Regions from separate parts of the Homo sapiens genome. Here region 2 is linked to region 1. Evidence: promoter capture Hi-C in human tissues and cell types (Jung and others, 2019). All regions are on one chromosome and are shown on one strand. The core of a region is centred on a gene start or on the middle of the fragment in contact, and the rest is flanking DNA. Distances in the headings are between cores, read along the strand shown.

Region 1 (2,539 bases), core at 29-2,528:
TTGGAACAAGCCCCCCACCCCTTGACAATGTCTCGGGTTCCCTTGAACAAGCTCTGCCTGAAATATTTCAATTCTTGATTCTGCTTACTCCAGAGTCTGCGACTGTATAGCACCCACCCCTCTGATCTCGACCCCTTTGGGGTCAGAAGCAGTCGCCCCATGAAAGTTGTCTCATCCCAGAACCTGACGGCTGAGCCAGAACTCTGGCACTGACTCTTCAATCAGCAGGGCCTTACCTCAGGTTAGGAATGCCCCGGCCTCTCTCTTTCCCTGATACCCCAAAGCCATCTCCTGTCTAGGAAAGTGAGTTTGTCGAGGTGGGTCTTCAGGTAGAAAGAACTCCAGAAAAGTCAGAAGCAGACCGCGACTGGAAGTGGGAGGTGGGAGTAGGGGCCCATGGTTTTCTTTTCGCCCCCCCCAGGAAGGACGACTGCTATCCGATTTGAACAGATTTGCACTAATTTTGCAGCAATCCCACATGCCTTTACAAAAATAATATTATCTTTGTTTTTGTCCTAGAATCCTTGGTTCCATTTCAGTCTCCTCAAAAACGTAAAACAATTTAATAAAAAATGTCAAAGCAGGGTAATGTAAAAGGATTCAAATAAATGACAGTTGCCTGGGTTTCCCTGGCTTTCAGTCTCCTACAGGAACTCCTAGATTAGGGCGTTTGGAGCAGGACTCCCGGGTCAGGGCGCGCCGCTCCATCCTCTGGCCTCCTGGCTGCAGACCAAAGGACCAGAGGGCAGAGAGGTGGACCTGTCTTGGAATTCTCTGCCTACTCCCAACTCTTGCTGCAAACCACCCCAGTCTCCTGCCCTTCCGTCGCCAAACCCCTAGACTTGGGAGGGAATGGAAACCAGAACTTTGGCAGCAAGGAGCATTGCTTGCGCTTTGCCTCAGTTTCCAAAAGGTTCGGGAAAAGAGAGGACAGATTCCTGTTCTAAAGTTGGGCAGAAGGGCAGAGTCCGACAGAGCCTCGTCCCTCATCTTGGGTGCTTTGAGACAGGGAAAATCTCTCGCCGCGTCCAGAACGGAACGCTGGGCTTGGGGTGCGGGGCGGGGACTCCAACTCGCGCGCTACGCTACTCGTGTCTCCTGCTCGGATAGTGACTGTAGAGGTAAGGGTGGGAGGGTGGAGGGAGGCGGATTAATCCCTTAATTACGCCGTGATCGGCGTGGCACCTGCTTTCCGCCTGCCCAGCTCCCAGGGGACTCCGGCACTAGGGGGTGGAGAGAAGGACGAGGGAAGGAGGAGGGCACGAAGAGGCACCGACCGTACCCAGGCGCACCGGCAGGAGAGCGGCACCGTGGCTGCCGCAGCGCGCAGAGGCTGTGGAGGGGCTTACGGCTCCCAGCCCACGGGTCTCAGACCCAGGGGCTGGGCCCCCAGCCCCCAGTCCCGATCCCAGCTGGGTCGAGCCATGCTGCGCTACCTGCTGAAAACGCTGCTGCAGATGAACTTGTTCGCGGACTCTCTGGCCGGGGACATCTCCAACTCCAGCGAGCTGCTCTTGGGCTTCAACTCCTCGCTGGCGGCGCTCAACCACACCCTGCTGCCTCCCGGCGATCCCTCTCTCAACGGTGAGACCCTGCCTCTTGGGGATATGGGATCCTGGGATGGGGATGAGGTGAGAGGGCGGCGTGGAAGGGAAGGAGAAGCGCTCCTGTCCCGAGGTCCGGGATTGAGTGGCGCCTCCCAGCGCCTCCCTGGGTCGTGGGGTCTAAGGGATAATTTGGAGCTTCGAGCACATGAGTGGGGGTACCCGCGGGAGGTCGAGGGCTTGGGAGAAGATGGCTACTGAGTCTTTTTACACCTCCTTCCCTTCCCCTACAACGCCCACCCCAGGTGAGAAGAACCGTTGCTGGTAACGGGCAGGGAAGTCCGAGCTAAGAAAGGCCCGGGCCCAGCGCAGGGAGGGCAGAGGAGGGGGCACAGTCTCCCGCCGGCCTCGGCCAAGCCAGGTCACTCGGTGACCCACCCAGGCAGCTGGTCTTCGGAACCCCGAAGTTTCCCAAGAACTCACTTAGGACCAGAGGAAGCCAAAATGCTGGATGTGTTTGCTACGGAGGGGATAGGGGCGGCGATCATTTTAAGGAAACTTAGAAGTTTGTCTTTCAGCGGCGGGACTCTCAGCCGGCCCACCCCGGCAGAGCTGTGGCGGGCGGGCGGAGCTGGCGGCGAGGTCGTTACCGCTAATTACGGTGATTAATAAATGACTGGGACAGCGCGCTCTCCCCTAGCGCCGCGGGGAAGCTGCGGGAGCCGGCCGCCGCCAGCCTGCGGAGAGGCCGGAGCGCGCCCCCTGCCTGCCGCATCGGGAACCCCCGCTTTACCGGGCGCTTTCGCGTGTGGTTCCCTCCAGGTGCACGCGGTCCCCATCCCTCTGCCTCGACCCACTCGAGTCTAGTGACGAGCACTGTGCTGGGGACTCGAAGGTGGAGAGAAAGGAGACCCTGGCAATATGTGTGTGTTCATGTGTGGGGCACATCAGGTGCTGAGGGAGGAGCCCCAGAGCCTCATTAGCATGGCCATTAG
Region 2 (2,539 bases), core at 13-2,512, 260 kb after region 1:
CTTAATATTTCTGGACCACAGTTGACCGTGGGTAATGGAAACTGTGGAAAGTAAAACTGGGGAAGGGAAGGCTCTACTGTATTTTGAATTGTAGGGTGTTTAGTAGACTCCCCGGCCTCTGCTTACGAGATACCATGTCCCTTCCTGACAACCAGACATGTCTCCAGACATTGCCAAACATCTCTTGGGGGCAGGCGGCAAAATCACCCCTGGTTGAGATGCACTATTTTCTTTCTTCTTCAAGTTTGCAATCTCACCTTCAGAAACCCACTTTCGGTTGATAATTATGTCTCCTGTTTTCCTTAAAAAGACGTCATCTGATCTAGGTTTTAAAAATATCCCTTTCTTACCATTCAAAATTCTTCCAGATAGTCACCCAACCCTTCCTCTTCTCCTTTAGTCTAGAATTGCCCTCTTTTTCAAGACGAATCACCGCACGTACATCTTTCCTTAAAGTCCATCCCAGCCATGCTGGCCGCCCGCTGTCAGTTACAGCGCTTCTCTGCTTCTTAGTCATCTGGCTTAGACACCATTTCCACTTTTTTTTCCCAAACACCTTTAAGACCTTTAGTTATCTTCATTAAGCTACTAGCCTTTTTTTCCCTCCGTTTAATCATCATGTTTATCTGAAAACTAGACATCAACAACAGCTAGTCTTTGTGGAGCACTTACAATGTGCAGGCGTCGTCAGGGAGGTGCAGGCGCCTCAGCCCCCGTGGTATCTTGACTTCTGCGTTAACTGGCTTTCCACCCTTGCCCAGCACGGTTACTTTCTCAATGATCACCGAACCGCGCAATCCGACGGCCGTTTCTTGGTCTTCGCTTCTTCACCGTCTCTAAAGCTCTTAACACTGTTGAGCACCCTTTGGTTGAAACTGTTTCTTCCCTAGGATTTTAATTTCTCTGGGATTCAATTTAGTTAGCTGAAAGTTGGAGGATTTAATTTAAGTAAGTGATTTCTAAGACCTCCTTTGGTGCCTGAATCCTATACATTTAAAAGCCTCTTGGTTTCTGTTTGCCAGACAGCTGCGCTCAGAATACCCTACTTCAGAACCCCAGAGGCCCAGGAGAGGGGCGGGCAGAGGGGCGCCCCCGCCACCGGGCACTGCTGAGGTGACCTTTATCTAGATCTTCCGTGCAAGCCTCTAACATTCTCAAGCTTTGCTTTTTTCCCCAACCACTGTCATTATTCAAACACAGGCTGAAAACGATAGAGTGATTTCTTTTGTTTATGTGTGTTTTATGCTTCCCTTTCCCTTGCTGTCCACGTAATCAGCCCCCAAATCCAGCTTCCTGAGCATGTCTGAACTCCATCTCCTGATTTTCATCTCCGGCAGCCATTATCCTAACCCAGGGCTCCTTATCACCCTTTTAAAATTAATTTTTACTTACAGCATTTAACTCCATATTTTCTAAAAGAAAATTCTGCTTCTAATTGTTGATTTCCACCCCCCAACTTTGACATTATTGTTACCTTCTTCCTCTGGAAGATGATAATTTAACTCTCTAACACATATGACACACACACACATATATATATACACACATAACACATATATATACACGCATAACACACACAACACACACATATATATGCACATATAAGAAACACATATATGCATATAACATGTAACACATTTATACACATACAACACATACACATATATGCATATAACACGTATATAGGCACATATACCTACACAACACATACACATATATACACATATAACACATACATACATACACATGCAATACATACACATATAATACATACTCATATAATACATAAATACACATAACATACTTATATTAACACATAATACATACATATATGCATATAACACATACATATACACACATAATAAATACATATATACTTATAAAACATACATGTATACACATGTAATACATATATACACATATAATACATGCATATATACAAATATACATAAATATATACACATAATACATACATATATACACTTATAATACATATATACACATATAACACATACATATATACACATAAAATACATACATATATAAACATATAACACACACAGACATATATATATATATATATATATATATATATATGCTTCTCCCTCAATCCTCCTAATTTAGTTACTCTATAATTTTTGGTCAAATTGGTATTCAGTATTCATAGTATTGTGACTATGGAAATACTGCCTATAACTAAGTCATGTGGTATACCGTGATTACATTTCCTTTCTTGTATGTTTTCTTTTTTTTTTTTTAGTTGGTTCTTTGTTCATTTGCTTAGTTTTTTTATTTTTATTATACTTTAAGTTCTAGGGTACATGTGCACAATGCACAGGTTTCTTACATATGTATACATGTGCCATGTTGGTGTGCTGCACCCATTAACTCGTCATTTACATTAGGTATATCTCCTAATGCTATCCCTCCCCGCTCTCCCCACCCCACGACAGGCCCCGGTGTGTGATGTTCCCCTTCCTGTGTCCAAGTGTTCTCATTGTTCAATTCCCACCTATGAGTGAGAACATGCGGTGTTTGG

Evidence for each region. The method cuts DNA at HindIII sites, captures the fragments that hold promoters and counts their contacts. A contact is called where the count stands out against the background at its distance.
Region 2: a contact is called between a fragment that was not itself captured here and the fragment with the promoter of ROBO3 in region 1, in 1 of the 25 tissues and cell types used here (spleen).

The regions. Positions count from the first base shown.
Region 1 is chr11:124,864,154-124,866,692 of GRCh38, forward strand. It overlaps ROBO3 (roundabout guidance receptor 3), which reads left to right and starts at 1,279. Exons shown (of 28, transcript NM_022370.4): 1 at 1,279-1,584. The coding sequence starts at 1,425. RefSeq lists an enhancer at 1,595-2,271. The HindIII fragment of the contact is 19,013 bases long and covers 1-2,539 here.
Region 2 is chr11:125,128,735-125,131,273 of GRCh38, forward strand. No RefSeq gene overlaps it. Among named protein-coding and RNA genes, the nearest start is that of TMEM218, 18 kb to the left of the region's middle. The HindIII fragment of the contact is 6,940 bases long and covers 1-2,539 here.